2 separate regions of the Homo sapiens genome follow, and region 2 is linked to region 1. Evidence: promoter capture Hi-C in 16 types of primary human blood cells and fetal thymus (Javierre and others, 2016). All regions are on one chromosome and are shown on one strand. The core of a region is centred on a gene start or on the middle of the fragment in contact, and the rest is flanking DNA. Distances in the headings are between cores, read along the strand shown.

What was found. Contacts are between HindIII fragments. The CHiCAGO score rates a contact against its expected background, and 5 or more counts as called.
Region 2: a contact is called between a fragment that was not itself captured here and the fragment with the promoter of NAPEPLD in region 1, in 1 of 17 cell types (erythroblasts). The highest score is 5.1, in erythroblasts.

Annotation. Positions count from the first base shown.
Region 1 is chr7:103,147,129-103,152,239 of GRCh38, forward strand. NAPEPLD (N-acyl phosphatidylethanolamine phospholipase D) reads right to left here and starts at 1,971. Exons shown (of 5, transcript NM_001122838.3): 1 at 1,683-1,971. LOC105375434 reads left to right here. Exons shown (of 3, transcript XM_047421168.1): 2 at 1,890-3,436. The coding sequence ends at 2,692. It also overlaps the pseudogene RPL23AP95. The HindIII fragment of the contact is 3,849 bases long and covers 1-3,117 here.
Region 2 is chr7:103,359,142-103,364,252 of GRCh38, forward strand. It overlaps PSMC2 (proteasome 26S subunit, ATPase 2), which reads left to right. Exons shown (of 12, transcript NM_002803.4): 5 at 2,816-2,947; 6 at 3,545-3,617; 7 at 4,203-4,298; 8 at 5,002-5,111. It also overlaps a transcript of SLC26A5 not described here. Among named protein-coding and RNA genes, the nearest start is that of PSMC2, 14 kb to the left of the region's middle. The HindIII fragment of the contact is 704 bases long and covers 2,798-3,501 here.

The sequences.
Region 1 (5,111 bases), core at 721-3,220:
TCAAAAGACAAATCAAGCAAAGCACTATAAATTGTAGACAGAATTATTCAGTAGTATAGGCGTTAGAATGAAATATTACTTGAATCTTATGCTGGAAATCACATGGGTGATATTTTAATGCCAGTTTTATGCATGCCCTCACTGGCCTCCAGAATAAAAGTGCTCTTTAACGATTAATTATACATACAGTTCATTTCCCTAATAATACTTCAATGAAAACACTTTTTATGTGTATGCATTTCAACCTAAAAAGCCCAGATCAACAGTCCTCCAGCTATAGCTATATTCTTATTTACAAAGTGTAGAAAGCAATGGAAAAACTCACTATATCCACAGCTATCCATCACCACAAAGAAAAAGCAGAATGAAACAACAAAATTAAAGGCAAATACTGCTTTTCCAAACACAGACTAAATGTTCATAAAAATCCTCTCAGTTTACCAAACTCACAAATACTCAAAGTAACATAATACCCCTTTCGAACAAACACAAGAATGACTGTATCAACTAAAGTATAACCAAAACCCTGTGATGGAATGCTTATGCTAAAATGTTCTTCATATAGTTATAACTGGACTAATTTTAAAATTAGAATTTTGTAACATAGAATTTCTACAATATAATTTGGAATTCTGAGTGAAAATAAGGGTATGAGAAATACACTAAGTATTTTTATCTCTTGGAGACTTACCATAATTCTTGTAGCAGGAAAGCCTGCAGAATGTTAACAAAACAAAATCTCTGAAAATCCTGACTATATTTTCAGTTGACTTGAAACAAATTTAACCCCTCAATCTCTCCTTAAATTATTATTTTAAATAAGTACTTTTACCCTAAATTTCTTCTTTAACAGACCCAGTATTTTCTTGCAACAAAAATCACACTATTGTGGGATATAGGTAATCTTCTTTTTAAAGATTACATAACTTCTTTCTAAACGATGTCCATGTCTGCGGCTAATTCATAACCAATGTAACTGAAAATAGAAATGGAAATGTTAGAGATTTCCATTTTTTAACAAACATGGGAATTATTTCTCAATTTGAAGAACTGCATCTCAGGAATGACTTCCTGGACAAATTAATCAGAATTATCAAGTAGCAAACATTTCATGCTAAGCCAAAGCCAACCAGGTGAGTCAGTCATATTATAACATGTATATATAACAACGTACAGTAAAGGCAAAGACAAGAACTAAATGACTTTTTAAAAGGCTGTTAAACTTTACTCACTCCCTTAATATTTTCCAGGTTTAACTGACGTATAATGAATGCATGTGATCCCGGAACCCATGGAAGAGTATCTACCATATCGAGCTCTAGCTTGAAAAAAAAAAAAAAGGAAAAAACAAACAAACAAAACAACAACAACAAAAACCTATCTGAATACGTGTTCTGAAAAGCCCACAATAATACCCAATTTATAAGAAGCAAACAACCACAGAACAGAAAACTCAAGAAAGCACAGCCTTCCACCACCCCTCCCCAGCTAGCCCCATTTTTTTTTTTGCTCTTCATTTCCATTCCATAGTTAAATAAGTACACTTATTCCAAAATAAAAGGGGAGAAACCTGTTGGAATGGATTTTTAGAAGATAAACACTATAGATGAAGCAACAATAAGTTGCTCGGAGGAAGTTGTCGACCCATTCATTTACATACAACCAAAAGAAGATAAACCCACATGTATTCCTATCAGTGAAGATGCAACCTGGTAATTTGCAGGGAAGATAGGATCTCAAATCCCAGACAGCTACTCTCCCAAAGAGAAAAAAAATAATGCTGTGGCTCTTCACCGAGGCAGCTTCAGAGATGCAGGCTCCGCAACTCGCGAGGTGCGAAAATTCAAATGAAGCCCTGTCGCTCACAAGTGCGGCATCTCCGAGATGAGGGAGGGCTCGGGGACGGGAAACCCACTCTCAGCCCGCTCCACTTCGCCGAAGAATTCCAAACCACCCCAGGCTCAGCAGTGTGGATTGCTCCGCCCAGAGACCGTGGAGGAGGCAGCAGAGAGGTCACAGAGCACAGCAGGCGGGAGAAAACCGCCTCCCGCGAGGTCCAACAGAAACCACGGAGCTCCGGACACTCGGGATCCCGGGCCGCGGGCGCGCGGCCAGAGCGGCGGGGTGCGAGCGCGGGGGTGCGGACTCACCTCGCGCTTGGGGTGGCCGGGAGCGCGCGCCGCCTCAGTTCCGCGGCTTCCGGCCACAGAGTCCCCGCGCAAAGCGCCGCCGCGTAGCGGGAGGGGCGACCGCGGCAGGCGCTCGGGTTCTTCCTAACCCGAGCCCGCCGCGCTGGCTCCGCCGAGGACGCCAGCAGCTGCAGGCAGCGCTTCAGCTCTCGCCGCCTCGCCATCGTTGGGGCGAGTCGTCGCCGGGTCACTCCCTTATTATGACCTTCGAATCTGACAGCAGGGCCAGCGGTGGCCTCCTTCAGGCTGCCTCTCCAGCCCTTACCAAGATGGCCGCCCCTGTGGGCCGGGGCGCCGAAGCCATCTTGGTAAAGGAAGCGCCTGGGAGCACGCGGCCTGCCCCGGCCCGCCTCGCGACTCAAACACTCTGCAGGGACCCTCCTAAGATCAAATTGGTTCCCCCCGCTGTCCTAAGCCAGAGGCTTACTTTCAGATCGCATGAACGCATTCCTGGACACCAGCCACAGTTGCTAAAACTAAATGGGATCCTGCAGACCCATTGACGGACTGTCATAGCCAACTCAATCACAGTCGAGAAGCATTTGAATACTTACAGCCTATGGCGCTAGGATCCTGGTAGCGAAGAAACTAAACTCTAATTTGAAATGTTGTACAGTACGTATTGAATATTAATGGGAGCACGGCATTGTTCACTGTGTGATCGTTTACTTTTAAAATGATGTCACAGCCCCCTGGTACACACGGTTCTCATCTAAATTTGCATCTTTTTTAACGCTAGGATAACTATGAAAGAGCATACGATTGTGATTCTGAGTTTCTTACTGGATTTGCTTTTTAAACTGCAGAATGAAATTAGTTGTTTCAAGAAGTAAAGTACAGGCATGTCGAAGTAAAATTCAACAATGGGTTGTTGGGCAAAAAGATTATAAAAGTCCTGGGGTGTGCCAGGGTCAAAAAAAAAAAAAAAAGCTTGTCCCTGGGGTTATCTTGGCAAAAAAGAAACCACCACCACAGGTTCTAAATGCAGATAAGACTGGCAGAAAAATGCAGACCAAACTATTCTGCATTTTGAAAGTGAATGTGCCTGTGTGACATTGGAGGAATGTAAAGAACTGTATGTCAAGTGTGGACTTTATCTCCTCAGGCTAGCTTAGAGTGGCTGCTGAACTTAAGGGTGATTAAGAGCTGCTTGCACCTGGGTGGAGCTGAAACTGCATAAGGTGAATAATACCTTTGTGCAACAGAAGAAAAAAAAAAAAGTAACAGCATACATACAAACCCAAAGGGTAAGTTGAAGTTACTACTCAAAAGTTCTTCATAGTGTTCTTGACTAAGCAACGGAGAAGTAATCCCGGCACTTTGGGAGGGCAAGGCAGGAGAATCCTTAGAGCCCAGGAGTTGGAGACCAACTTGGGCAACATAGCGAGACTTCATCTCTACAAATAATAATTAAAAAAAAAAAAAAGTAGCCAGCCTTGATGGCCCGCCCTTGTGGTCCCAGCTACTCCAGAGGCTGAGGTGGGAGGATCGATTGAGCCTGGGAGATCAAGGCCGCAGTGAGCTGTGATCACGCCACTACACTCCAGCCTGGGCAACAGAGAAGACCCCATTTCCCCAAAAAAAAAAAAAAAGCTGGGCGCAGTGGCTCACGCCTGTAATTCCAGCACTTTGGGAGGCCAAGGCAGGAGGATCACCTGAGGTCAGGAGTTCGAGACCAGCCTGGCCAACATGGCGAAACCCTGTCTCAAGTAAAAATACAAAAACTAGCTAGGCATAGTGGAGCTCACCTGTAATCCCAGCTACTAGGGAGGCTGAGGCAGTAGAACTGCTTGAACCCCAGAGATGGAGGTTGCAGTGAGCAAAGATGGCACCACTGCACTCCAGCCTGGTAGACAGAGCAAGACTCTGTCTCAAAAAAAAAAAAAAAAAAAAGATGCCCTTTGTTCCCCTCACTCCCACTCTTTTTTTTTAAGTCCTTGTCCTTTATTGGTTAAGGCTGAGGGAAGCAGACAGACCAGTTGGACATAGTAGATGGGTGTGTGAGGTCAAAGTGCTACCTGAAAGCCAGCCAACCCACACTCCCCTAAGATGAATGCTAATGCCCTTCAAACTGTGGGCATTGGTTTCACACACAGCCTCTTCCAGGGATAAAAGAAGGGGTTCTTGTAAAGCCTCTTCTTTTTTCTTTTTTTTTTGAGACGGAGTCTCGTTCTGTCACCCAGGCTGAAGTGCAGTGGCCAGATCTTGGCTCGCTGCAACCTCTGCCTCCCAGATTCTCCTGCCTCAGCCTCCTGAGTAGCTGGGACTACAGGTGCCCACCACCATGCCCGGCTAATTTTTGTCTTTTTAGTGGACATGGGGTTTCACCATGTTGGCCAGGCTGATCTCGAACTCCTGGCCTCAAGTGATTTGCCCGCCTGGGCCTCCCAAAGTGATAGGCTTGAGCCACCGCCACCCGGCAGCTTCTTGTTTTCTTACCTCTACCATGGAGACAAGTTCTGGTTTTCTTAGGACAACTAGCTCTGGTCATAAAGATCTCTGGAGTGATCAAGTATGGTGGAGTGGCAGAGTGAGTGTTCCAAAAGGATAAGTAGAACAGGAGTCTTGCCCAGGCCCTATTACAACCTCAGTACCTTGAATGGCCTCCCCAGCCCAACCAGAAGTTGACAAAGAGGCATGAACCTGGTGAAAAGATACATGTATTTATAATTAGCCAGCTGGACTCAGTTTAGATGACCCCAATTTTGTTGGCAATATCCCAGTTTTGTTGGGTCAGCAACAAAGTTGATCCCAATTTTGTTGGCAATATCCAAAGCATTGTAATCAGGAGCCAGTGGAGCTTATGCCTTCTTCCTGCATCAGGCCTAATCAGGGCATGGACTTTGGCCACATCAGTGTCATAGAGCTTCTTCACAGCCTGTTTGATCTGGTGCTTGGTGGCTTTAACATCCACAGTGAACA
Region 2 (5,111 bases), core at 1,900-4,399, 210 kb after region 1:
TTTTTTTTTTTTTTTTTTTTTTTTTTTTTAATTTTTAGTAGAGACAGGGTCTTGCCATGTTGCCTGGGCTGCTCTTGAACTCCTAGGCTCAAGCCATCTGCCCACCTTGGCCTCCCAAAGTTCTGGGATTACAGGTGTGAGCCACCGTGCCCAGCCAGCTTATGAATTTTTTTAATAACAATCTTACTGATATAAAATTCAGATATCATGAGGTTCACTCTTTTAAAGTATACAATTTAGTGATTTTTAGAATATCTAGAAAATTGTGCATTGATCATCACTATCTAATTCCAGAATAGAATATTTTTGTCACCCCAAAAACAAACCCAATACCCATTAGCAGTCTTCATTCCCGTCTCTTTCCAGCCCCTGGCAACCATTTATCTACTTTCTGTTTCTATGAATTTGTCTATCCTGGACATATCATCTAAATGGAATCATATAGTACATGGCTTCCTTCACTTAGCATATTTCAAGGTTCATCCGTATTCTAAAATAGATGGAACTTTTTATGGCCAAATAATATTCCAGTCTAATTTCTCTATCTGTATTCACTATTGGTGAGACATTCTTCTCATCATTCCTATAAACTCTTTAGATATGGTTTCCTTTAGCTTTTTGAAAATATTTCTTGTACTGATTTAAGGTTTTTGTTTGACTGGGCGCAGTGGCTCATGCCTGTAATCCCAGCACTTTGGGAGGCTGAGGCAGGTGGATCACTTGAGGTTGGGAGTTTGAGATCAGCCTGGCCAACATGGTGAAACCTGTCTCTACTAAAAATATAAAAATATTAGCTGGGCGTGGTGGCAGGCGCCTGTAATCCCAGACACTTAGGAGGCTGACGCAGGAGAATTGCTCGAACGTGGGAGGCGGAAGTTGCAGTGAGTCAAGATCGCGCCACTGCACTCCAGCCTGGGCAGCAGTGAGATTCCGTCTCAAAAAAAAAAAAAAAGTTTTGTTTAATAACACCAACATCTAGGCTTCTTAAGGGACAATTTCTATTGACTGATTTTTTTCCCCTTATGTATGAGCCATAATGTCATACATAAGGGAAAATGCATTTCATAATGTTTTGCATCTCATAACTTTTTGGTGATAACTAGACATTTAAAATAATGTAATGTGTCACCTCTGGAAATCAAATTCTTCCTTTCCCCAGGGTTTGGTATTATTGCTGTTTGTTGTTCTTGTTTTTCCTTTCAGGTTTTTTGGTCAGCCTCTTTTTTTTTGGTAGAGAATGGGTATAATTCTTCTTCCCTAGCAAACATGGTTGGTAACAGAAAACAGAGTCCTTCACACAATTATGCTATCAGGACAAAGCATTCTTTTTTAGCCTTGACCTCCTGGGCTCAAGTGATCCTCCAGCCTCAGCCTCCTCAGTAGCTGGGACTACAGGTGCATCCCACCACACCTGGCTAAGCCAAAGCATTCTGTACCTTACTTTTAGCTCTACCTATGTGCGCACTCCACAGGCTATTTTTGTATTTCTCTGTAATTCTTGCTGTGGCTTATGTAGCAGCTTTCTAATGTGAGTTCTGTTTTTTGTTTTTGTTTTTCTTTAGTAGATAGATACTATAGAAGGGGAAAGGCGGTTGACTATTTTATACTGTGATGTGCATGGCATTATAAATTCATTTTTACCAGGCCATATGGAAATGAATATAATTAAGTTAAAAATAGCTTCTACTGGCCGGGTGCAATGGCTCACGCCTGTAATCCCAGCACTTTGGGAGGCCGAAGCAGGTGGATCACTTGAGGTCGGGAGTTTGAAACCAGCCTGGCCAACATGGTGAAACCCCGTATATATTAAAAATACAAAACAATTAGCCGGGCGTGCTGGCGCATTCCTGTAATGCCAGCTACTTGGGAGGCTGAGGCAGGAGAACTGCTTGAACCCAGGAGGCGGAGATTGTAATGAGCCGAGATCGCACCACTGCACTCCAGTCTGGGCTCCAGAGCAAGACTCTGTCTCAAAAAAAAGAAAAAGAAAAAAAAACAAGCTTCTACTGCCTCAGTTAAAAAAAGAAAAAAGTAGCAAAAACAATAAAAATGGATTTAAAGTCCGGGTGTGGTGGCTCACGCCTGTAATCCCAGCACTTTGGGAAGCTGAGGCGGGCGGATCACCTGAGGTTGGGATTTCGAGACCAGCCTGACTAGCCTGAGGTTGGGAGTTCAAGAGAAACCCCCTCTCTACTAAAAAAAAAAAAAAAAATACAAAATTAGCTAGGCATGGTGGTGCATGCCTGTAATCCCAGCTACTCGGGAGGCTGAGGCAGGAGAATTGCATGAACCCAAGAGGTGGAGGTTGCAGTGAGCCAAGATCACACCATTGTGTTTCAGCCTGGGCAACAAGAGTGAAACTCCATCTCAAAAAAAAAAAAAAAAAAAAAAAGAAAAACGGATTTAAAGTATAAACTCAGGAAAAGAATGAAAACCCATTTATTACTGAATTTGGTGTAAGACAAGATGACCATCTTTTTGTAGGGAAAATAAAAACGAGAGCAACTTAAGATATACAGGAGCATCACTAATAATAAAGGAATACAAACTATGGAAATCAAGAAATCAGAGAACTTCTTAATGATGAGATATTTGGGTTTAATTTTCCAGGAGAATGTATTTGAAAATTTTATGACTTGGCTAAAGTCGAATGGACCTTTGGAGTTGGGTATAGAAAAGGATCTTTAACAGTGTCCCAGTTTCTGTAGTTCTAGTTTATACCTGTATATTGCACACTCAGGATATAATCTAGTTAGTTGAATTCATTATTAGTGGCTTAGGTTCCTTATTCTAATCAAGCTTTTTGCTGTGTTAGGTGTACAAAGATAATCAATGCTGATTCGGAGGACCCAAAATACATTATCAACGTAAAGCAGTTTGCCAAGTTTGTGGTGGACCTTAGTGATCAGGTGGCACCTACTGACATTGAAGAAGGGATGAGAGTGGGGTAAGATTTCTATTTACAATAAATACTTTTCTTTCACTAAGGATACTGTCTCACATTCATATCCTTGGCTTTGTAGTGAATAAATGGACTGAGTTCCTTGGAATACCAAAGGATGATCTAGTAATGTACTATAGTTGAAAATTCTGTCTTCTGCATCTGCTTCCTAACTTCCCATCGGCTTCGCTGACTCCCCTACTCCCACTGTTGTTTATTATGAATGGCTTCAAATTTCAGAGTTGAGGTTACCAGTCCATTTAAGGTAACATGGTATAGGTTGGGGGAGTACTTGCTTTAGGATAGTTGTGATGCTAAGTGTGTTAATGTCTATAGAATACATAACAACTCACTTAGTAAATTAAAAAAAAATCTCCCCTCCCTCCTCAAAGGTTTGATTGCTGTTGGATAGGTTGTTTGCGACATTAGACATGTAGTTTAGTATCCTCAGATTTCATGCTCTCTTTATTTCTCTTTATATAATTAGGGACTCTGTCTCTCTCTTGTTTTCTTAAAGTATGGTTTTGGGGATAAAGGACTAAACATAAAAGCACTTTGAAAGCTTAAAGAATGTATTAATGACTATCTTTTTTACTTCCTTAGCGTGGATAGAAATAAATATCAAATTCACATTCCATTGCCTCCTAAGATTGACCCAACAGTTACCATGATGCAGGTAAGAAACTATGGGAGGGAAAAGGAAGGCTATGTCTTTTTTTTTTTTTTTTTTTGAGGCGGAGTTTCACTCTTGTCCAGGCTGGAGTAGAATGGTGTGATCTTGGCTCACTGCAACCTCTGCCTCCCGGGTTCAAGCAATTCTCCTGCCTCAGCCTCCCGAGTAGCTGGGATTACAGGCACCCGCCACCACGCCCAGCTAATTTTTGTATTTTTAGTAGAGACGGTGTTTCACCATGTTGGCCAGACTGGTTTCGAACTCATGACCTCAAGTGTTTGGCCTGCCTCAGCCTCCCAAAGTGCTGGGATTCCAGGCGTGAGCCACTGAGCCCGGCAGTATTTTATATATATATTTTTTGAGACAGAGTCTCAGCCTGTCTTTATTTTACTAGTTTGTTTTTCATTCATTAGTGTCATAACAAGTTAATACAGCAAGTAGTTCCAGGGCACTGGGCAATGTATTCAATTTTTATTAAAATTCTCACTTGTGAGTTTTTCTTTTAAGGTATTAGGTCTATTCTATTGAATTTGGACAGTATCCAAAAAGCCTGTGACTGTATGTTGTACATTTCTGTCCCTCTCTTAGGTGGAAGAGAAACCTGATGTCACATACAGTGATGTTGGTGGCTGTAAGGAACAGATTGAGAAACTGCGAGAAGTAGTTGAAACCCCATTACTTCATGTAAGTAGCTGAGTGTTGTATTTAAATTTCTTTGTATAAAGATGTCTTTTGTGTATTGAGCACTAAAATTGCTTGTATATTAGATGGCTTTTAATATTTTCCCTAATGAGAGTTTTTTGAGAGGGTGGAGAGAGGAGGTGTGGAGAGTTGGTAAGTTCTAGGGGAGAGCAAGCAAAAAGGATTGAGTGGTCAGGTATATTTAAAAAAGAAAGATCTGCTGTTTACAGTGACAGAGGAGGCACAGTGTAACCTTTAGCAATATGTTAAATATGTTACAGGCTATTATAGAAGAAACTGGTTCTTCAAAAGACATCGAGAAGAAAGGGGCTTAAATTGAAGCAGGTTAAACTTGGGAGGATAATGGAAAACTAGGATACTGAATACCAGATAATTTTGTTCCTTAAACACCATAATTTTTTTTAAATTAGGAAAATATTTTAAGACTGGATAATGGAAGTGCTTTTTAAAAGCCATTTAGTCTTATGTATTGATAGAAGTCCAGTTTAGAACTTATGTCTTAGAATAAGTAAAATTTCTTATTTAGTTCAAGTATGTATATTGTGGACTTAATAATTTTGATTTAAATATTAAAGTATGGTTTTCAGGATAAAATACTAAACATAAAAGCACTTTGTTGATTTAGAAGTAGTCTGATTTTTGTTATACAGAAGTGGTAAGTGTGAAAATTGTGTCTCTATCACAGCCAGAGAGGTTTGTGAACCTTGGCATTGAGCCTCCCAAGGGCGTGCTGCTCTTTGGTCCACCCGGTACAGGCAAGACACTCTGTGCGCGGGCAGTTGCTAATCGGACTGA